4 separate regions of the Homo sapiens genome follow, and regions 1, 2 and 4 are each linked to region 3. The links are contacts of gene promoters, found by promoter capture Hi-C in blood cells and fetal thymus (Javierre and others, 2016). All regions are on one chromosome and are shown on one strand. Each heading gives the region's core, a stretch centred on a gene start or on the middle of the fragment in contact. The rest is flanking DNA. Distances are from core to core; before and after follow the strand shown.

Evidence for each region. The method cuts DNA at HindIII sites, captures the fragments that hold promoters and counts their contacts. A CHiCAGO score of 5 or more calls a contact.
Region 1: a contact is called between a fragment that was not itself captured here and the fragment with the promoter of U2AF1 in region 3, in 1 of 17 cell types (M1 macrophages). The highest score is 5.5, in M1 macrophages.
Region 2: a fragment that was not itself captured here is called in contact with the fragment with the promoter of U2AF1 in region 3 in 1 of 17 cell types (M1 macrophages); the score reaches 5.3 in M1 macrophages.
Region 4: a contact is called between a fragment that was not itself captured here and the fragment with the promoter of U2AF1 in region 3, in 1 of 17 cell types (M2 macrophages). The highest score is 5.1, in M2 macrophages.

Annotation. Positions count from the first base shown.
Region 1 is chr21:43,683,956-43,690,263 of GRCh38, forward strand. RRP1B (ribosomal RNA processing 1B) reads left to right here. Exons shown (of 16, transcript NM_015056.3): 10 at 598-695; 11 at 1,815-1,834; 12 at 2,849-2,980; 13 at 3,561-4,285. Among named protein-coding and RNA genes, the nearest start is that of RRP1B, 28 kb to the left of the region's middle. RefSeq lists a silencer at 4,161-4,290. The HindIII fragment of the contact is 1,629 bases long and covers 854-2,482 here.
Region 2 is chr21:43,706,148-43,711,805 of GRCh38, forward strand. It overlaps LOC124905031 (a long non-coding RNA gene), which reads right to left. Exons shown (of 2, transcript XR_007067895.1): 1 at 5,208-5,658; 2 at 4,569-4,891. Among named protein-coding and RNA genes, the nearest start is that of PDXK, 10 kb to the right of the region's middle. RefSeq lists enhancers at 1,081-1,614, 4,994-5,658. The HindIII fragment of the contact is 3,350 bases long and covers 1,743-5,092 here.
Region 3 is chr21:43,106,084-43,111,924 of GRCh38, forward strand. U2AF1 (U2 small nuclear RNA auxiliary factor 1) reads right to left here and starts at 1,487. Exons shown (of 8, transcript NM_006758.3): 1 at 1,368-1,487. The coding sequence starts at 1,411. It overlaps LOC101928369 (a long non-coding RNA gene), which reads left to right and starts at 1,607. Exons shown (of 5, transcript XR_937770.3): 1 at 1,607-2,012; 2 at 3,259-3,433. The HindIII fragment of the contact is 2,538 bases long and covers 1-2,024 here.
Region 4 is chr21:43,627,453-43,633,027 of GRCh38, forward strand. HSF2BP (heat shock transcription factor 2 binding protein) reads right to left here. Exons shown (of 9, transcript NM_007031.2): 6 at 2,870-3,002. Among named protein-coding and RNA genes, the nearest start is that of MIR6070, 20 kb to the left of the region's middle. The HindIII fragment of the contact is 1,245 bases long and covers 2,994-4,238 here.

The DNA of each region.
Region 1 (6,308 bases), core at 418-2,917, 580 kb after region 3:
GTGACAGACTCTGGCTCAAAAAAAAAAAAAAAAAAGCACACCCAGGTAAATTTTGTTGTGGGTACTCTATCACAATTTTTTTTTTTTAAGAATTGCTTACCCAGCTTTTCCCAAGAATAATTTTTTTTTTTTTTGAGACAGAGTCGCACTCTGTCTCCCAGGCTGGAGTGCGGTGGCTCGATCTCGGCTCACTGCAAGCTCTGCCTCCTGAGTTCACGCCATTCTCCTGCCTCAGCCTCCCGAGTAGCTGGGACTACAGGCGCCCGCCATCACGCCCGGCTAATATTTTGTATTTTTAGTAGAGACGGGGTTTTGCCGTGTTAGCCAGGATGGTCTCGATGTCCTGACCTTGTGATCCACCCGCCTCAGCCTCCCAAAGTGCTGGGATTACAGGCATGAGCCACCGCGCCCGGCCTGAACATGCATTTTTCAAAGGTAGTGCTTGTGCTCCTGGTTGCCAAGTCCCAGCACAAGCTTGTTTAGCCTATCTGTTGCCAAATGCTTCAGTAAGGGTTTCTCTTACTAGCAGATGTAAATGGCCAAGTCAGGCAGTGTTGTTTGGCTGCAGACTTATGTTTAGTTTCTCTTCCTGCCTAGTTTGACTATAAGGCTGTTGCTGATCGACTCCTGGAAATGACCAGCAGGAAGAACACGCCCCACTTCAACAGGAAGCGCCTCTCCAAACTCATCAAGAAGTCAGTAACTGGGGAGAGGGTTCTGACATCATCATTCCTTTAGTTCTCATCTCCTGGTGTGGGACAAGCCATCTGCATGCTTATCTTTTTTCTTTCTTCTTTTTTTGTCCTTTAATGCTTTTGTGTATAGCAATGTAATAGACACATGTAAACTGAAAAGCTTAATGGAAACAGCAGTCCCACCCCTCAGGTTCCATTCTTCCAGTGCAGCCATACTCATCTCTTAGCTGCTTTAGAATGATGTGAAGTCTATTCATGTCTAAAATGAACCAACCAGAAACTGATGTGAATCTGCTATTTAGGTGTCTTCTGCTGGTGTGCTGCTGAGATAGATAGGGTTAATTCTTTACCTCTCCCCTCCCTCCCATATGGCTATGCCAAAAGTGTTAGTTAATTCAGCTGTCAGTGTTGATGTCACTCTGACCATAGTGACATGATGACCTGGAATTCATGGAGGGCCTCGTGTGGCTTGCTGTCATTGGTGACAACAACTGTCTGATCACACTCTAGGAGCCGGGCACTGCTCTGAGCACTTTGTATACATTCAAGTATTCCATGTTAAGCCCCCAGAAAGTAGCTCCTGTAGTTTTGCCCATTTCCCAGCTGGTTCTTAGGGCACAGGATGGTCCTAGCTTGCCTGAGGTCCCTGCCATCCAGTGTCTCCTCCCCCATGCACCTCCCCACACTGCGCTTCGATGCGTCTTGTTTGTTCTAATGCACAAAAATTGTGTGAAGCAAAACATGGCTTCGCCTTTCTCCACTGGAGAATTGAATATGAGAGAGATCTAAGCTATTTCTGCCTTCAGAAACAAAAATTGAATTTCTTAGTTTGATTTGGGTGTGCCAAGATGCATCTTTGGCCCGCCGTGTCCTTGCTGGTATTGATGGTAACCGAGGGCGGCACTGGCCTTGAGCTTTTTGGCTTTTGTATTGCACCACCCTTCCCTCACAGAATTTCCTGTCTAGCCTCCCCTCCTGGAGGAGAACGTGAATTAACAACTATTTAACTATGGCTTGTATTTTAAAAATCAAATACATATGTCTACAGAAGACAGAAGGGATTTCTTTATGAACATTTGTTATTTTTTTATTTTTTATTTTTTATTTTTTTATTTTTAGATTCCAAGACCTTTCTGAAGGTGAGGCGCGCCAAGAATCATCATTCATGGTGTTTTTCGTGAATATGGACCCCACTGGGGGCGTTGATGCCAAACGCTGAGAAACAAGATTGAAAGAACTTTACTGAAAACCTCTGATAAGAAATAATAGTCCCTAGCCCAGGCAAAATAGCAAGGCCACATCTCTACTAAAAATGAAAAAATTAGCCAGGCGTGGTGGCGTGATCCTGTAGTCCCAGTCACTTGGGAGTCTAAGAGGGGAGGATCGCTTGAGCCCAGGAGGTCCAGGATGCAGTAAGTTGTAATCACACCACTGCACTCCAGCCTGGGTGACACAACAAGACCCCAACTTTTAAGAAAGACAGACCAGCCCTTACCTAGTCATACCGCAGTACAGCGTGGGAAGTGATGCAAGCCTAGGGCTCCCTGCAGCCTGCCCACCTTCCTATCCTGGGCTCTCCCTAACCACCAAAGCAAGAGGGCAGACTGCTCTCATGTGTGGGTACTGCGATGTTTTGGTTTGGTTTTTATTATTTTAACTAGATGGATTTTCAATGGCCTAGGAAGGTTTTAATTGGATACTCTATGAAGGTAAAAAATGTAATTTCTCAGGATCCCTTTCATTTGCTCTTATGGTCAATGGTCCCCCCGGGAAAGGCTGATGCTGTAAGCTTTGTTACATTTGGACAAGTCAGTGAAGTTACCCCATACCCGTCATTCACTAGGGACACTTGGAATTGGGAAAGGCACCAGCAAGCTGGTTGGAATGCAGAGACTGCATTAGCCAAGCGTCCGGGGTCCAGCCATGGAGGGTGTCACCGAGGGCTTGTGATCCCTTGCCTTGCCTTGGTTGAGAAATCCACAAAGCTTTTTTAAGTCTGTAATTCCTGTGTCAGCAGCGCTCAGGTTTGGGTGGGAGAAACGGTGAGGAACGATGATGATGAGGCAGAAATTGGGAGGGGTGCTGCTCTTAGGCCCCTGGGGCAGAGTCTTGAGCGCCTGGGGAAGCTAACAGTGTGTCACTCTGGCATCTAGGAAGCAGTATATCTCAACTCAGTTTTGCGGAGGACATTTCTGCTGATGAAGATGACCAAATCCTCAGTCAAGGAAAGCATAAGAAGAAAGGAAATAAACTTTTAGAGAAAACTAACTTGGAAAAGGAGAAAGGTAAGCTGTAAAGCTAAAAAGAAGGGCACGACTCAGCCCTTGGGGAGCGGCATGCACCATGGAGGCCTCGGAGACTTGAGCTCGTGCCGTCATAAAGCATTAGCAGAGCCCAAAGCTTCAGTCTTTAATGGCTGAGAGGTAAAGGCGGTTTTCCAAGTGTTGTGCTGTTTTTGGTGGAGCCGCGTCCCCACCTCACCCCGCTCACGTCCGCCTGCTCTCCAGGGCACCTCTGCAGGGAAGCAGGAGCTGCAGGGAGCACTGGGGGGCGGCTGTTTGATGACCACTCGAGATCTATGGTTTTTACCCTTGAGCCCTAAAATTAGTGGAAATGGGACTATTTCAGTTCCATATGTGTTTATAAACGGACAGAAGGAAGGCTTCCAGTCACAGTTGGGGATGGAGGAAGTGGGACCAGACGACAAAGGTAGTGGGCGCACCAAGTACCTCAAGGGAGACAGGAACTTTCCTCGTGGTAGAATGTCAGGAAATTGCGTCCGCCAGTCATACTGTCTGAGAATCGCCAGCAGGACTCTGGCCCAGCTGGCACTGGGTGCTTGTTGATGGGTTTCTGTCTTTTTAGGAAGCAGAGTCTTTTGTGTAGAGGAAGAGGACAGTGAAAGCAGTCTTCAAAAGAGAAGAAGGAAGAAGAAGAAGAAGCACCACCTGCAGCCTGAAAATCCAGGCCCAGGGGGTGCAGCCCCATCCCTGGAACAGAACCGGGGCAGGGAGCCCGAGGCCTCTGGGCTGAAAGCCCTGAAGGCACGTGTGGCCGAGCCAGGTGCAGAGGCCACGTCCAGCACTGGGGAGGAGAGTGGCTCCGAGCATCCTCCAGCCGTCCCCATGCACAATAAAAGGAAACGGCCACGGAAGAAGAGCCCGAGGGCCCACAGGGAAATGTTGGAATCAGCAGTGTTGCCCCCAGAGGACATGTCTCAGAGTGGCCCGAGTGGCAGTCATCCTCAGGGACCTAGAGGGTCCCCGACAGGTGGAGCCCAACTCCTAAAAAGGAAGCGGAAACTTGGAGTTGTGCCCGTCAATGGCAGTGGCCTGTCCACGCCGGCCTGGCCTCCATTGCAGCAGGAAGGCCCTCCCACAGGCCCCGCAGAGGGGGCGAACAGCCACACCACGCTGCCCCAGCGCAGGAGGCTGCAGAAAAAGAAGGCAGGGCCCGGCAGCCTGGAGCTCTGTGGCCTGCCCAGCCAGAAAACAGCAAGTTTGAAAAAGAGGAAGAAAATGAGAGTGATGTCAAACTTGGTGGAGCACAACGGGGTGCTGGAGTCCGAAGCTGGGCAACCCCAGGCTCTGGTAAGGTGGGAGCACCCACAGGCCAGCTCGCCACAGAGGCACTCACTCGCGTCCATGGGGCTCCACTGCCTCCTGAGAGGAAGGGTGGGGGCTGGCGGCCAGGCCTCTGGACTCAGCAGCAGTTAGAATAGGGTGTGTTCATAACAGCCTTCACTAAGGAGGAAATCACAGGTGACCAGTACTTCGGTCCTCCTCATCGGCCACCTTCACTCCCTTAGGCCACATGCTTGGGTTCGGGAGGGCCCACTCCAAGCTGGGAAAGTTATCCCTTGGGCCAGGCACTCCTGCCCCAGGCGTGTTCAGGCCAGTCTAGGCCTCTGTCAAAGGCAGGTCTGGTTTTCTTCATCAGCGCATGGCCAGTCCAGGCCCCTTTGGCAAAAGAGGAAGCCCAAAATTCTCTTGCTTCACTCACCTTCTTTTCTATATTCTTTTCTTTTCTTAGCTTCCCCCCTACCCCCCAGCTCAAGAAACTTCACTAGCAGGACCACTTATCTTCTTAATGGAAAGACTTTCCTTCCACTTTGATTTCTAGAGCCAGATATAAATGAGGAACCAAGCTGTTGATCTGGTCTTGGGTCTGGCTGTGTCACCCAGGCTGGAGTGCGGTGGCACAATCTCGGCTCACTGCAACCTCCACCTCCCAGGTTCAAGCGATTCTTCTGCCTCTGCCTCCCAAGTAGCTGGAATTACAGATACACATCACCATGCCCAGCTAATTTTTGTTATTTTTGTAGAGACAGAGTTTTGCCTTGTTGCCCAGGCTGGGCTCAAGCAGTCCACCTGCCTCGGCCTCCCAAAGTGCGGGATTACAGGCGAGAGCCCCCGCGCCTGGCCCTGATCCGCTTTTCACACCACCTCTGGGCGCCCTGGGCTTCCAGGCCAGGGCCGGCAAACGTAGTGTCACTGCAACAGAGCCACATCCACTTGTATGTGCAGGTCTGTGGCCACTTTCATGCTGCAGCGGCAGAGGGGAGTGGTAGAGACAGAGACCTGCGGTCTGTAAAGCAGAAAATAACTCTGCCCTTCACAGAGTTTGCGCACCTTGGTCACCTCTTGGTTTGCACACACCGCTTTGCGGAGATTATGACATCTCTTGTTTAAGTGGACATGTGTGGACCTGGTGAAGCGCTGGTTTGGGGCTAAGAGTGTCTGCAAGTGGCTAGTGAGTGAGTTTATGGTCAGGAAAGCCTTACCCAGGGGCAGCAGTGCACTGAGCTGGACGGCAGGAGGCCCATTTCTAGCCTCGAGTCTCTCCTACCTCACAGTGCCGCCATCTCCTCCCTGGACTGCAGCCTGCCCCTCGTACCCTCAGCGCTGCTCCCTCACTAAGAGGGCCAGAGACATTGCCTTTCTTGCTGTCGTCTCAGGCCCCTGGCAGCCTATTGTAAAGAGGATGGGGTGTTGCTCAATAAGTCCCAGGGTCAAGGGAAGCTTTCCCCTGCCATCTGTCATGGCACAGGGAAGGCGCACAGGAGAAGCTCCTCGGGCTTCCCTGCCCTCCAGGCGGCACACTTGAACCTGCCGGAGCCACCCGTGTGTCGGCAGCGGCACTGGGCTGCCCACACCTCTGAGAGCCAAGTACGAGACCCGGTCTCTCTCTGGGTGGCTGTCAGTTGCTGCACACGCAATGAGTGTCCTGGGCCTGCCTGTGAGGGACCCACAGCCCCACATGGGCATCACTGTCCTCCACACCAGACTGCCAGCGCAGTGACGATTCAGCTACAAATGGGAGAGTCGATCTTATTAACAGATCGGCTTTGAAAGGCCAAAATCCCCATTTTGAAGATGAAGATAAAAGTGGGTCCTTACTCTGACGAGGCGTTTTCATCGCCCCTCTTGGCATGGTGCCATGATAGCGGTCGTGTTGTGCGTGAAGCCTGAGCTCTGCCGAATGGAAGGGCTGTCTGCAAGTGCGGTGCGGAAGACCGCGGGCCGTCGGGTGGGCTGGATCTGCCTGGGGCTCTGCCTTCCCCTCCTGTGTGTGTGGGCAGCACAGGAGGCTCTGTCGTCTGACCCCTCCTCC
Region 2 (5,658 bases), core at 2,168-4,667, 600 kb after region 3:
TACTCGGGAGGCTGAGGCAGGAGAATCGCCTGAACCTGGGAGGCGGAGGTTGCAGTGAGCCGAGATCGTGGCACTGCACTCCAGCCTGGGCAACAGAGTGAGACCCTGTATCAAAAAAAAAAAAAAGAAAGAAAGAAAAAACAAACATAAAAACGAATTTGAGGCCAGGTGCAGTGGCTCATGCCTGTAATCCCAGCACTTTGGAAGGCTGAAGCAGGTGGATCACCTAAGGTCAGGAGTTCGAGACCAGCCTGGCCAACGTGGCGAAACCCCATCTCTACTAAAAATACAAAAATTAGCCCAGTGTGGTGACGTACGCCTGTAATCCCAAGCTGCTCAGGATGCTGAGTCAGAAGAATCTCTTGAACCCAGGAGGCAGAGGTTGCAGTGAACCGAGATGGCGCTACTGCACTCCAGCTTGGGCAACAGAGCAAGACTCTGACTCAAAAAAAAAAAAAAAAAAAAGAACTGTTTGCATCATTAGATAAAAAATAAAGCTTAATTGAAAAACAGTATGATTTCTATCATATAAAAGCAAACATAGAAAATGAGTCGTATGGCAAACCACAGCCTTGCTCCCGACATGCCTCACGAGCCCCATATACCCACAGAGGCCAGGAGCAGCCAGACTCACTGGCTTTACAGTTTGGTTTTGTTTGTTTTAACTTTTTTGCAGAGAACGGGGTCTCCCTATGTTGCCCAGGCTGGTCTCGAACTCCTGGGCTCAAGCAATCCTCCCGCCTTGGCCTCGCAAAGTGCTGGGATTACAGACATAAGCCCCGTGCCTGACCGGCTTTATAGTCTTTTTTTTTTTTTTTTAGACGGAGTCTCACTCTCTCACCCAGGCTGGAGTGCAGTGGCGCAATCTAGGCTCACTGCAAGCTCCACCTCCCGGGTTCACACATTCTCCTGCCTCAGCCTCCCAAGTAGCTGGGACTACAGGCGCCCACAACCACGCCTAACTTTTTGTTAAATTAGCACACCATGCTAATTTTTTGTATTTTTTTTTTTTAGTAGAGACGGGGTTTCACCGTGTTAGCCAGGATGGTCTCGAACTCCTGACCTCGTGATCCGCCCGCCTCGGCCTCCCAAAGTGCTGGAATTACAGGCGTGAGCCACCGTGCCTGGCCGACTTTACAGTCTTAAACGGGTTGTTGTGCTCCCTTTTTCTTGGGTGGGGGGGTTTGCACACCTTCAGTTGAATTCGTGCAAGTTAGAAGAGATTCCACCATAGTGAAAAAGTGGTGACTCTACCTAAATGTCCATTAACTGAGAACACAGCTGGCTGAAGACAGCCACAGAATAGTCATATACTGGAGTAAAATGCAGTCACAGGCTGGGCGCGGTGGGTCACACCTGTACTGTCTGCACTTTGGGAGGCCGAGATGCCAGGAGTTCAAGACAGGCTGGGCAGCAGAGTGAGCCCTGTCTGATATAGCTTGGATATTGGTCCCTGCCCAAATCTCATGTTGGAATGTGATCCCTGGTGCTGGAGGTGGGACCTGATGGGAGGTGGAGGTCATGGGGGCGACTCCCTCAAGAATGGCTGGGGCCATCCCCTTGGCGACAACTGAGCTCCCTGCTCTGAGTTCACAGGAGAACTGGGTGTGTAGAAGTGTGTGGCACCCCCACCCCTCACTCTCTTGCTCCTGCTTTTGCCCTGTTGCGGCGCCTGCTCCCTGCTCGCCTCCCACCATGAGTGCGAGCTCCCAAGGCCTCCCCAGAAGCTGATGCCAGAGCCAAGCTTCCTGTGCAGCCTGCAGAACCGTGAGCCAATTAAAGCTCTTTTCTTTATAAATAACCCAGTCTCAGGTATTTCTTTATAGCAATATGAGAACAGTCTAATACACTGTCTCTACAAAGAAAATTACAGAATTAGCTGGGCATGGTGGAGCATGCCTGTAATACTAGCATCTTGGGAGGCCAAAGCAGGAGGATCACTTGAGCCCAGGAAGTTGAGGCTGCAGTGAGCCCTGATGGCACCACTGCACTCCAGCCCAGGTGACAGAGCAGACCCTGTCTCAAAAAAGTAAAATAAAATTAAACGTATTAGCATATGAATATCTCTACTTTATTTTGCTGTTTATTTTTCTTTTTTCAGCAGGTGAGTTGGTGCACACCCTATAGCCGATTCCAGCTGTGTGGTGCCGTCCTGCTGTTATGTGATTATTTACAGGAGAGTTCACTTGGTTCACATCAGGGGTCACTCATGATGGGCCCTTCTCTGGGTCTGTCAAATGCTAATCTCATGTGCAGACCATCACAGTGTCCTTTTCCGGCCCTAAAGCCCGCTGTGCTTCTCATATCCATTTCTTTCCCCCTTGACCATCACAGTGTCACACAAAGTCGTTTTCTGGCCCTAAAGCCCACTGTGCTTCTCCTATCCTTTCCTTTCCCCCTTGTCCTAACCTTCTGACAACACCTGACCATTTTCTTTTTTTGGAGAGAGGGTCTGCTCTGACTCCTAGACTGGAGTGCAGAGGCATGATCTTGGCTCACTGAAACCTCTGCCTCCTGGACTCAAGCAATCCTCCTGCCTTAGCCTTTCTCAAATAGCTAGGTCTACGCTACAGGGGTGTGCCACCACACATGGTTAATTTTTGGGTTTTTTTTGTTTTGTTTTGTTTTGTTTGAGATGGGGCCCCACTATATTGTCCAACCTGGTCTTGAACTCCTGGGCTCAAACATCCACCTGCCTCGGCCTCCCAAAGTGCTGGGATGACAGGCATGAGCCACCGCGCCTGCTGGGATGACGGCATGAGCCACCGCGCCTGCTGGGATGGCGGCATGAGCCACCGTGCCTGCTGGGATAATGGCATGAGCCACCGCGCCTGCTGGGATGACAGGCATGAGCCACCACGCCCAGCCTCCTGACCTTTTAATTATCTCCATAGTTTTACCTTTTCCAGGATGTCACTTGGTTGGAGTCACACAGTAGGCAGACTCTTCAGATCAGTGTCTTTCACTTGGTAATGTGCACCTAACGTTTCCTCACTATCGCTTCATGGCTTGATGGCTCACTCTTTTTCATTGCTGTATAATATTCCATTGCAAATGTACACTACAGTTTGTCTATTCATTCACCTACTGAGAGACACCTTGGTGGCTTCCAGTTTTTGACAATTACTAAAGCTGCTATAAACATTGGTGTGCAGGGTTTTGTGTAGACATAAGTTTTTAACCCTTTGGGTAAAGATCAAGGAGTGCAACTGCTGAATTATAAGGTAAGATGTTTAGTTTCTTTTTTCTTTCTTTCTTTTTTTTTTAATGAGACGGAATTTCACTCGTGCAGTGGCATGATCTCTGCTCATTGCAACCTCTGCCTCCTGGGTCCAAGCGATTCTCCAGCCTCAGCCTCCCGAGTAGCTGGGATTACAGGTGCCTGCCACCATGCCAGGCTAATTTTTGTATTTTTAGTAGAGATGGGGTTTTACCATGTTGGCCAGGCTGGTCTCAAACTCCTGACCTCAGGTGATCCGCCCCCACCTCGGCCTCTCAAAGTGCTGGGATTACAGGCGTGAGCCACCACGCCCGGCCAAGATGTTTACTTTCTAAGAAACCACCAAAGTGCCTTCCAAAGTGGCTACACCATTACAGTGTTCCCACCAGCAATGAAGGAGAGTGCCATGTCCCGCCAGCACCCAGTGTTGTCAGTGTTCTGGACTTCAGCCATTGTAAGCAGTGCTTAGCGATGTTTCATTGTTTGAATTTGTACTTTTCTCATGGCATGGCGTTCAGAACTTTCCATATGTGTATTTGCCATTTGTATATCTTCTTTGGTGAGGTGTCTAGATCTTTTGCCTATTTTTTGGTTAGGTTGTTCCCTTATTGTTGAGTTTTAAGAATTCTTTCGCCAGTTGTGGTGGCTCACACCCGTAATCTGAGCACTTTGGGAGGCCGAGGCAGGCAGATCACTTGAGCTCAGGAGTTTGAGACCAGCTTGGGCGACATGGTGAGACCTCTTCTCTACAAAATAAAAAAAGAGTACAAAAATTAGCCCGGCATGGTGACACACGCCTGTAGTACCCGCTACTCAGGAGGCTAAGGCGGGAGGATCACTTTAGCCCAGGGGACAGAGGTTGCAGTGAGCTGATGTGTGCTACTGTACTGCACTCCAGCCTGGGTGGTAGAGCAAGACCCTATTTAAAAAAAAAAAAAGGAAAAAAGGCTGGGCGCAGTGGCTCATGCCTGTAATCCCAGCACTTTGGGAGGCTGAGGCGGGCGGATTACTTGAGGTCAGGAGTTCGAGACCAGCCTGGCCAACATGATAAAACCCCATCTCTACTAAAAATACAAAAATTAGCCGGGTGTGGTGGCAGGCGCCTGTAATCCCAGCTACTCGGGAGGCCGAGGCAGGAGAATCACTTGAACCTGGGAAGTGGAGGTGTCAGTGGGCCAAGATCACGCCACTGCACTCCAGCCTGGGCAACAGCAAGACGAAAGAGAAAGAGAGAAAGGGAGAAACAGAGGAGAGAAAACAAAGGAAGGAAGGGAAAGAAAGAAAAGAGAGAAGGAAAGAAAGAGAGAGAGAAAGAAAGAGAGGAAAGAAAGAAAGAAATCCTTGTATATTTAGGACTCAAATCCTTTATTGATGTTTTGTACGATTTAAAGATTCCTTTGGTGGTGGGACGCAATACAGTGACACTCAGCTAGAGGAGAGGCAGAAGCCTGTGTATTGATGTTTTATAAGATCTAAAGATTCTTTTGGTGGTGGGACGCAATACAGTGACACTCAGCTAGAGGACAGGCAGAAGCCTGTGTGACTTACAGCTCTAACAAGAGGCCGCCGCCAGGCAGGGTCACACGGGGGATTGTGCCTCGGACGTCAGTGGACTGGACACAGCCCAGGAGAGAATCTGCAAGCTGAGGACATGTCCATAGACTTCCCCAACTGAAATGCAAGGAGAAAAAAGAGTAAAAATAACTGAACAGAATATCCTAGAACTACGGGACAATTATAGAAGGTAATTTACACACTCATAATGGCAATACCAGAAGAGGAGAGGGAGAAAGGGATAGAAGAAATATTTGAAGTAATAATGGCTTCTCATTTTTCAAAATTGGTGTCAGACACCAAACCACAGATCTAGGAAGCTTAGAGAACACTAAGTACAACAAATGCCAAAAAATAGGAACTTTGGCATGTCGTATTCAAACTGCAGGAAACCAGAGACAGAATATCTTGAAAGATGTCGGAGGGAAAGTACCTTCCTATAGAGGAACAAGAATACGGATCACACTGGACTTCCATCAAAAATCATGTGATCTGGGTACTGGAAGCTACATGTAAAGAAGAAATTCATGCTCACGCCTGTAATCCCAGCACTTTGGGAGGCCGAGGCGGGCGGATCACGAGGTCAGGAGATCGAGATCATCCTGGCTAACACGGTGAAACCCCATCTCTACTGAAAATACAAAAAAATTAGCCAGGCGTGGCAGTGGGTGCCTATAGTCTCAGCTACTCGGGAGGCTGAGGCAGGAGAATGGCGTGAACCCGGGAGGCGGAGCTTGCAGTGAGCCGAGATCGTACCACTGGCACTCCAGCCTGGGCGACAGAGACTCGGTCTCAAAAAACAAAACAAAACAAAAACCCAAAAGAAGAGGCACCTGAGCCGCTTGCTTGAGCCTGCTCCCACTCTGAAATGTCTTCAGTAAATC
Region 3 (5,841 bases), core at 237-2,736:
GATAGAGCTGGTCTATTCATTCGCCAAGATCATACCGTGAGTTCCTTAAGGATAATATCCAAATTTTACCCATGTTTAAGTCTCCAGAAACTGACCTATAGTTGACCCCCACTAAATGTTTCTGGAGTGACTATAACTGGTAGATTTTGGCTTAAAATTTTGCTAGAAATATAGCCTCCTCATCCAAACAACACAGGAGATTCTACCATGTGTGAAGAGGACATTTTACAAGATAGACTCCATCCTGGAAAAGAGAAACATTTTAAATAGCGTTTGAAAAAAGTGGCATTAAAAACATCTATGACAAACTTAGGGGTTTATCATTGAAAACATAAAGTCATGTTAACTTTGTATGGCACTGAAGAATGCCAAGATAACTAAAGAGTAGATTAAGCCAGATGCTGAGTCTTTAGGTTTTCAAAGTAAGAATTATCCTTCAAACGTCTGAAAACATTCCATTTAGTCTAAACTACAGCCAACTCACTGGAAATTAGTACGTGCCAAGGTGGCAATTAAAGCTGAAATTAAATGTTTTGCTTTTAACCTAACGATTGATTAGGGAAGGCATGCAACCTTAAGGAAAAAATCAAAACATCTTTTTCCTTATATCAGAATTGTGTCTTCAAGAACAGTCACCGACTTACAAATTTTCAACTTAGATGATGGGTTTATCGGGGTATTAAAGGCATTTTCGATTCATGATGGGTTTATCGGAACGCAATCCCATGGTAAATCCAGGAGCACCTGTATGTTAAGAGCGGATCACGTCTCTTGTGGTTAGATAGTTAATCCAGTAGTCTCCACCATACTTTTTCTCGTCATATCTCCTTACTGCCGGCCCAGCGGTCGCTTAAACAGGCAAGAGGCTGGCTAAGTGGATAAAACACCAACGCTTAGGACCCTAAGTTAGATAAGCGACTGAATACTGGCGAGGCTGGTACCAGAGCTTGCTCGACAGGACATTCACAGCCGAAAGTTGGAACAAACGTGTCCACGTCCAAAAGGCCCGGATGCTCCAGGCAACTTTCAGCGCGGCTCGAGGCGGCTTCCGGGAGTCGGCGACTCGGAGGCCCGGACGTCGGGCGATCAGCCAGTCCGGACCCCAAGGCCGGAGAAAGCTCGGCCGCGGCGCCCCGAAAAGAGACCCCATTCATTCTGCCCGCTCCAGTTTTCCGCCGCGCGGCCCACGAGGCGGCGGCTCCGGAGGGCGCGCAAGGGGCCGGAAGGGCCACCGCTCCTTCCCGCCGCGCGCCCCTCCCCCGCCACCGCCGCGCCGGCCCGCCTGGGCCTCCCCGGTCGCCCTCCCACCGCCTCAACCACCCTGCGCCCCGATCGCGCCCAACCCCCGGCGGGGGGCTCCCACTCACTTGTCTTTCTCGGTGCCGAAGATGGAGGCCAGATACTCCGCCATTTCCCACCCGCCGCCGCCGCTGCCGTCGACACTGCTGCCGACGCCGCCGACCCTGCCGACGCCCTCGGGAGACGTCACCCGGACGCGACGACGCTCTTCCCCGCCCCGACGTGGCAGCGCTACCCAGTCAGGCGAGGTGCTGCCTGCGCGTGGGCGGGACGCATGCGCGTAGGGAGCACGTAGTGCGCGTGGGAGGCTCCGCCTTTTCGGTCCTGGGAACCCGCGCCCCCTGCCGGTGCCCTCCCCGCCCGGCCCTAGCTCTCTCGCCTTCTCGCCCGCCCGGCGCTGGCCCTGCTGGATCCTGCGCGCCGGGGACTGGGGGCTGGCAGTGCAGACCGAACCCGGGGCCGAGGGGCTTCTCCACAGAGCCGCCTGGGGCTCGGTGGGGGGCGCTCAGCTCGACCCCAGCTAAGGGAGCACTAGGAAGTGCGGGCGTCCCCTTCCCTGCACCCTTGCGGGGCGGGAACCGTCGACCTAGAAGAAAAAAAAAGCTGAGGCAAACTTGATATAAGTAGAGAGGTTATTTGGGCCAAGTTTGAAGATTGCAACCCGGGAGCATAGCTTCAAGTTGCCCTGAACATAGGATTTGCAACAGTGACAAGTGGGTTTATAAAGCTTAAGAGGGGGGCAGTTCTTAAATAGCTCACCAAGAATTTACATGAAAATAACAAGCTATTAATTGGCTGTACGTTGTTCTTTATATCATAATTCCAGGAAAGGAAGTTCATGGGTGAAGGCAGCGGGTCCGGAGCAATAGTGCCTTTAAACAATTGCCAGGCATGGGTGGGGACCGCTGAAGCCGCATAGACCTGTCTCTCCGGGCCGGATTAACCTCGCACGCCTCACATAGCTCGGACGCTCTGTGTTGTTTTTCTCTTCTCACACCCCTCTCCGCTTTACCCTCCCTCAGCGCTTGCCAGGTGCGACCTCCCCGGGGCCCTGCACTCTTGCAGTTGCCTGGCCAAGGCCACCCACAGGTGGAGCTGGAAGGCCAGTGACCTGCCTCTGGGATACCCTTTCAGTCTCCTCATGTCACAAGGCTGGAACCATTCCGTTGGAAGGGTTCTATTCCTCTCCTGCGTTTTAACCCCATCAAGCAGCCATTTTCATCTGGTTTCCCACATTCATCAACTCACCTGCGATTTACCTAATTTCCAACGCAACTATCAACTCTGATTAGGTAGAAGTCAGAGAGACAGGGCCTATTTTACTTACCTCCTCCACAAGATGAGCCCCAGACTGTGGGGCAGGACCATGGGATCCTCTTAGCTCGGCTAGAGCTGAATGCTGAGCTCTAGTGTTTGGGCGGATTTGCGTGTTAGAATTGCATTTCTCTTGGCAACAGAGCATCTTCCTACCTGGGAAAGATGAGCAAACTGGAAACCTGTATTAGAAACAGTAGGGCCTCAGAGGTTTAAACCAAAAAGTATCTTGAGACAGGGCTCAATCAATTTAGAAGTTTATTTTGCCAAGGTTAAGGACAATGCCTGGGAGGAAAAAAAACACGGTATCACAGAAACAGTCTGTGGTCTGTGCCTTTCTCCAAAGATGACTTTGAGGGCTTCAGTATTTAAAGGGGAAAAGTGGGCTGGAGGGGAAAGCGGAACAGTGTGGTAATCCACACGTTGCAAGAGAAAAGAAGCAGGTTGGGAACAGTCGACTGTGTACAGCTCACTCCTCAGCAAATCAGCACTTTACATAAGAGAAGCGGATGTTGAACCTTCTATCTGTAGCCGTCTGCTTAGGAACGAAAGGAAAGGCAGCTGCTTACATGACTCAGCTTTCAGCTCATTCTTTTCCTTTTGACAGAGTGAACTGGGGTCCTGACTTTTGTGTTCCTTTCGCAGAGGTGAGGCCAGAGAAGTGACAAGACAGATGCCAGTCCAGCAGGTGGGCATGTCCAGAAAGTGCAGCCTCAGGACACGGTCTGGGAACAAAGACTGCTGGAGAGTTGGAAGCTGGCAAGAGGCTCTCAGCTGTGAAGTACCTGGGGTGGGGGAGAAGTGGTCGGAGAAAGCAGAGGTAAGGTCTGTGCGTGGGAACTGAACTGAAATCCACAGCTCTATTACAAGGAATTAATCTGGTTACTAGAACCAGGGTAGATGATCAGACCAGGCAGGGCCACCAGTACCATCCACCCATTTTTCCTGAGAAAAGAAAAATAGGGTAGTCTGAGCTCTGTGAGGTGTGCAGAATGATCAGGCCCAGAGAGGCAGGAGTGTGGGACTTCATTCAGCGCCTCTTCCACCATAGAAGCAACTGTCCAGGGCAATTGTTTGATGGAATTTTTGCTCCTGACAGGCTGCCTCACCCATTATCTTCTTGTTCACATGGAATTAGTGATGCTAAGAACGATGCATAGCCAATCAGCACCTTCTGTTATTTTAATGCAAATTCTTGCTAACAACTTAGGGACTGCCTCTTCCTTTTCCTTAAAACCCCACTGTGACTGCTGCTAATGGGAACATATGTTCAGGGCAACCTAGGGGCATGTGCCCAGGGAGCCATCCTCAAGCTTTGGGCTCAAATAAACTCTATACTTAATCATATTTCCTGAATTTCATTATTTGAGGTTGACATTTTGGCAACCCAGATAGGACCTGAAGCAGGCCTTCAGGGATTGCCACTAAGTAGTGGCATCAATAGTTGGAGCCTTGGTACCAGCACAAACGACTGTTGTTTACTCGACCTCACTGGGGCTGGCAGGGGTCTCTGGTAAGGCCAGTCTTGGGATCTGAATCCTCCCAGCTTAGTTGAAGATTGAGACTTACACACTAATAATTTGATAGGGTTAGAACTGAAGCTCCACTGAAAGGTAGGAGTTTCCATTTTTATTCTCTAGAGATTCTGTTGACTGCAGATTTGTGATTTTCACTTCTGTCTGAGGTTTTGCTTGTCTTTTTACAGTTTGCAGCCTTTTCTCTCATTCGAAATTTGGTCAAGGAGAAAGTGTCATCTTTAAAACTGGCCATATTCTGAAACTTGGTTCAACTGACAAATCTAAACATTCTTCTTCTTCTTCTTTTTTTTTTTTTTTTTTTTTTTTTTGAGACAGAGTCTCGCTCTGTCGCCCAGGCTGGAGTGCAGTGGCATGATCTCGGCTCACTGCAACCTCTGCCTCCTCAGTTCAGGCAGTTCTCTGCCTCAGCCTTCTAAGTAGCTGGGATTAGAGGCGCCTGCCACCATGCCCTGCTAATTTTTTGTATTTTTAGTAGAGTTGGGGTTTCACCATCTTGGCCAAGCTGATCTTGAACTCCTGACCTCGTGATCCCCCTGCCTCGGCCTTCCAAAGTGCTGGGATTACAGGCGTGAGTCACCGCGCTTGGCCATTTTCTTCTTTAGTGACCAAAATTCCTCCCCTTAGGCATTTTTGGTCATTCAGAAGGAAAATCTAAATTATGGACACTTGTGCTTCTAGAGCAGACATGCATCTGCAGAGACGGCAGCTGGATTCGTGGACAATGCTTATGGTGCCACCTTCTGTCAGTATCTAGAAACATGGTCTCACTTAACCCGTGAAGACCCCAGACTATAATAGCTAAAATGGGGCGCCTTTAAAGTAACTAGTTTATGCACTCAATAGGAAAAATCTGCATCTAAAATTTAAAAACTGAGAGAGCTATTTTTCAATGATACTTAGAAGCTTCTAAAAGAAGTTCTGATGAAGTCATTTCTTTGCAAGAAGAAAACAGAAGATTATCTGAAACTATTTCTTTTGTTTGTTTGTTTTGAGACAGAGTCTTGCTCTGTTACCCAGGCTGGAGTGCATTGGCGTGATCTTGGCTCACTGCAACCTCTGCCTCCCAGGTTCAAACGATTCTTCTGAGCTGGGATTACAGGCATCCCCCACCTTGCCTCGCAATTTTTTTTTTTTTTTTTTTGAGACAGAGTTTCATTCTTGTTGCCCAGGCTAGAGTGCAGTGGCACGATCTCAGCTTGTTGCAACCTCCCCCTCCCGGGTTCAAGCGATTCTTCTGCCTCAGCCTCCCAGTAGCTGGGATTACAGACACCCACCACCATGCCTGGCTAATGTTTTGTGTTTTTAGTAGAGACAGGGTTTCACCATGTAGGCCAGGCTGGTCTCGAACTTCTGATCTCAGGTGATCCACCAGCCTTGGCCTCCCAAAGTGCTGGGATTACAGGTGTGAGCCACCACGCCCAGCCATCCACAGTTCTTTTTAAAATTTAGAAGTAGTTTCAGGCTGGGTGAGGTGGCTCACACCTGTAATCCCAGCACTTTGGGAGGCCAAGGTGGGTGGATCACGAGGTCAGGAGTTCAAGACCAGCCTGGCCAAGATGGTGAAACCTCATCTCTATTAAAAATACAAAAATTAGCCGGGCATGGTGGCGGGCGCCTGTAATCCCAGCTACTTGGGAGGCTGAGGCAGAGAATCACATGAAACCCAGGAAGCGGAGGTTGCAGTGAGCCA
Region 4 (5,575 bases), core at 2,366-4,865, 520 kb after region 3:
TACATAACTACACAGAACATGCAAACTCATCTGTTTCCTTCAGATCATTCATTCTTAATAACTGATACTTATCAGAATCACCTGGGGTGATTTTCCAAAATAAACATACCCGGTACCTATCCCAGAACTATGGAATCAGATTATCCAGGGTGCTCCCCAGCATTAATATCTGAAAACACTCCTGAGAGATGTTTACACACTCTCAACCCTGACTGTAAACACCAGTCTCTGTAACAGTCACTACAGCTGAAAAGAATTACAGGCACATTTCGTTTTATTGCATTCACTTTATTGTGCTTTGCAGATACTGTTTTTTTACAAATTGAAGGAATGTGGCAACCCTACATTGAGCAAGTCTGTTGGTGCCATTTTTCCAACAGTGTGTGCTTAATTCATGTCTCTGTGTCACATTTTGGTAATTCTTGCAATAGTTGAAACTTTTTCATTATTATTACATCTGTTATGGTCATCTGTGATCAATGATCTTTGATGTTACCACTGTAATTGTTTTAGGGCACCATGAGCCACACCCATGTAAGACAGCAAATTTAATCAATACATGCTACTTATCTTCTGATTTTTCCAATGACTGGCCATTCCCGTTTCTCTCCCTCTCCTAGGAACTTGCTATTCCCTGAGACACAACAATACTGAAATTCGGACAGTTAATAACCCTACAATGACCTCTAAATGTTCAAGCAAAAGGAAAAGATACATATCTGAAAGCAAAAGCTAGAAATGATTAAGCTTAGTGAAGGCATGGCCAAAGCTGAGACCTGCTGAAAGTTAGACCTCTTGTGCCAAACAGCCAAGTTATGACTGCAAATGCAAAGTTCTCGATAGAAATTAAAAGCTCTATTCCAGTGAACACATGAATGATAAGAACGCAAAACAGCCTTATTGCTGATATGGAGAAAGCCCAAGTATTCTAGACAGAAGATCAAAAATCATCAAAAATCCCTTAAGCCAAAGCCTAATTCAGAGAAAAGCCCCAATGCTCTTCAATTCTGTGAAGGCTGACAGGGGTAAGGAAGCTGCAGAAGAAAAGCTGGAAGCTAGTACAGGTTGCTTCATGAGGTTTAAGGAAAGAAGTTGTCTCCATAACATAAAAACAACGTGCAGCAGCAAGTGCTGATGGAGAAGCTGCAGCAAGTTATCCAGAAGATCTAGCTAAGATCACTGCCGAGGGTGGTTACACTAAACAAGAGATTTTCAATGTAGACAAAGTCGCTTTCTATTGGAAGAAGACGCCATCTAGGACTTTCACCGCTAGAGAAAAGTCAATGCCTGGCTTCAAAGCATCAAAAGACAGGCTGACTCTCTTGTTAGGGGCCAATGGTGCGGGTGACTTTAATTGAAGCCAATGCTCATTTAACCATTCTGAAAATCCTAGAGCCCTTAAGAATTATGCTAAATCTACTCTTGCCTATGCTCTAGAAATAGAAAAACAAAGCCTGGATGACAGCACACCTGTTTCCAGCATGGTTTACTGAATATTTTCAGCCCACTGTTGAGACCTACTGCTCAGAAAAAAAGATTTCTTTCAAAACACTACTGTTCATTGACAATGCACCTGGTCAATCAAGAGCCATGATGGAGAGGTACAAGGAAAGTAATGTTGACTCCATGCCTGCTAATACAATACCTATTCTTCAGCTCATATATCAAAAAGAAATTTCAACTTTCAAGTCCTATTTTTTTTAAGAACTACATTTCATAACGCTACAGCTGCCATAGACAGTGATTCCTCTGATGGATCTGGGTGAAGTAAACTGAAAACCTTCTAAAAAGGATTCACCATTCTAGATGCCATTAAGAATATTCATGATTCAGCCAAGCGCAGTGGCTCATGCCTATAATCCCAGCACTTTGGGAGGCTGAGGTGGGCAGATCACCTGAGGTCAGGAGTTCAAGACCAGCCTGGCCAACATGGAGAAACCCCATCTCTACTAAAAATACAAAATTAGCTGGGCATGGTGGCGCATGCCTGTAATCCCAGCTACTTGGGAGGCTGAGGCAGGAGAATCACTTAAATACAGGATGTGGAGGCTGCAGTGAGCCGAGATCACGCCGTTGCACTCCAGCCTGGGCAACAAGAGAATATTCATGATTCATGGGAGGAGGTCAAAATAACAACATTAACAGGAGTTCGGAAGAAGTTGATTTCAATCCTCATGGATGACTTTGAAGGGTTCATGACTTCAGTGGAGTAAGTAACTACAGACGTGGTGGCAGAAAAAAAGGATAAGTTGCTTCTTATGGAAGAACAAAGAAAGTGGTTTCTTGAGATGGAATCTACTCTTGGTGAAGATGCTAAGACATTGTTGAAATAAGAACAAGAGATTCAGAATATTACATAAACTTAGTTGACAAAGCAGCAGTAAGGTTTGAGAGGGCTGACTCCAATTTTGAAAGATGTTCTACTGTGGAAAAAATGCTATCAAACAGCATCACATGCTACTGAGAAATCTTACATGAAAGGAAGAATTAATCAATGTGGCAAACTTCATTGTTCCTTATTTTAAGAAATTGGCACAGCCACCCCAACCTTCAGTAACTACCACCCTGATCAGTTAGCAGTCATCAATATCACGGCAAGACCCTCTACCAGCAAAAAATTGTAACTTGCTGAAGGCTCAGATGATCATTAGCATTTTTAGCAATAATGAATTTTCTAATTAAAGTTTGTACATTTTTTAGACATAATGCTATTGTACATACAACAGACTACAGTATAGTGTAAACATAATTTGTATATGCACTGGGAAACCAAAAACATTCATGTGACTCATGTATTATTGCAGTATTTGCTTTACTGCAGTGGTCTGGAAGCAAACAGGCAACATCTCTCAGGTGCGCCTGCACTTACTCGTGACAATTCCAGCCAGAGCGAAAACAAACTGACTTTCATCCGAATCCAGCTCCTGGACATCACCGTCTAACGACTTCACAAAACTCTCCATTGTTTGACCAGTGATGCTGAAAAACTTCAAAGCTTTATCCTGAAAGTTTGAAAATCAGAGTGTCATATCTTTTTACAGACACTAGTGTGAAAACATTTTAAAAGTGCAGGATACAGAAGATTCTAGTTTTAATTGTAGAATATTGTAAAATCTATTCCCTCATTAAAAGTTCCCATTAAAAGAACAGAGAAAGCAGCTTGAGGCATGCAGGAGCAACAAAAACTACCCTGAAGATTGGTGGACTCTTCACACGCATAAATATGATATAGGACAAATGTACATGATGATGAAAGTAAATGGGAAGAATTCACTCAAAATGTAATAAAAATATACTAGAAAAACATGCTGCCTATTTGCTCTGGGCATTAAACCAGAGGTGTTCAAACCTTTAGCATAACTTTTTTCAAAAAAAAAAATCTTAATGAAAACATGTAAAAGAGGTAAAGACTGGCTCCTCTGGTAGTTTAAATCTTCATCACTTGGCAAAAAGCATTTCCAAGTTTGAACCTTTGAGTTACTTCCTTTGGGGTGCTAGAGTTCTGAAGAAGAATTTTAAAACCAATGTACATTTTAACCCAGTTAAAAAATTGGAAATATTTGCATTTACAAATGATATAAGAAAACTTCATGGATGATCAAATAATCTAAAACTGGGTTGTGGTGATGGTTAATGCAACTCTAAAAATTTGCTAAAAACCACTAAATTGTACATTTACAATCTTACAGTATGTAAATTAAACCTAATAAAGCTCAACAAACTTTTAAAAACACATTTAGTCTTTCCACCTAAAGTCAAACACAACTGTTATTTCTATTAGCAGTAACTAATTTCTCACTGGTTTCCTGCCACACGTCCCCCTCTTCACCTTCATTTCCAGTCATGATCACGCCATGCTCCCAGAGTCAAACACCGATCTTTTTTGGCTCCTCTTGTCCCCTCCAGGTGCCCACTCTGCCCGGCCATCGCATCTGCCTCAACTGCCACAGCTCTCATACATGTTCCTTCTTTCCCATCTCCCCTGCAGAGGGCCGAGCTCACTCCAGCCAGACCAGCTAGAATGACCACCTCATCAGTCATCCTGTGTAGACGCGATGTGCCACAACTCCACCTCCTAATCCATCCTCACCCACTGTCAGGTGAATCTTTCTAAAATTCTGCTCTTATCCTATCACTTTTATTGAAAAACCCTTAGGGAAAATCCAGTCTTCCCACCTACAGAATGAATCACCAACCTGGTATTCAAGGTCCCAAAGTCACATCCCAACCTACGTTTAAGCTTTACCTCCCCACTACTCTATGACATTAACTCTCCACTGTGTCAACTGACCTACTCACTGTCCTAAAACAAACCCACCCATTTTCTGCCATTTCTACCTATTCATCAAGGCCCATTTCAAATTTATCCCCTTCTGTGAAGTTCCCTGACAAATGCCTGCACGCATGCATACATGTGCGTGTGCACGCTCCCACACACACACATGCTCCCACACACCCACACGCTCCCACACACACGATCCCACATACACAGGCTCACAGGCACACACACTCCCCCCCCACACACGCTCCCCACACACACACTCCCACACACACAGGCTCCCACATACACACACATGCTCCCACACACACACACGCTCCCCCCCCACACACGCTCCCACATACACACGCTCCCACACACACACACGCTCTCCCCACACACACGCTCCCCCAAACACACACACGCTCCCACACACACACTCACACAGTCTCACACACACACGCTCCCCCACACACACACATGCTCCCCCACACAAACACACATACGATCCCACATACACAGGCTCACACACACACACACACACTCCCCCACACACACGCTCCCCCCACACACACACACAGGCTCCCACATACACACACACGCTCCCACACACACACTCCCCCACACACACATGCTCCCATACACACACGCTCCCACACACACACGCTCCCCCCCCACACACACACACTCCCCCACACACACATGCTCCCACACACACACACAGTCACACACACATGCACATGCTCAAACACACATGCTCACACACACACGCTGCCACACACACACACAGTTGAACCTTGAAAACAAGGGTTTGAACTGCACAGGTCCACTTACACAAGAATTTTCTTCAGTAAAAGTTACACCAAGTGTGTCTGCTGCTCCAGCCTCCCCTTCCACCTCCTCCACCTCTACCACCCTTTAGACAGCAATGCCAACCCAACCACTCCTCTTCCTCCTCCTCTTCAGCCTACTCAATTTGAAGATGATGAGGGGGAAGACCTTCATGATGATCTAACATACAAAAAATGTGTTAATCAACGATTTATGTTGTCAGTAAGGCTTCCAGCCAACAGTAGAGAGAGTCAAAAGTTCTATGTGGCTTTTCGACTGTGCAGGGGGTCAGCGCCTCCAACCTCCATGTTGCTCAAGGTTCTGCATCTATATGTATGTGTGTGTGTGTGTATGTATAAACACACACACACATCTACATACATGTATATATGTTAGATAACACAATATTCAATAAATACTATATTAACCATGAGATAATATATATAAAAGCACTTTTGATCTTCTTAAACACATGTAAAGTATTAA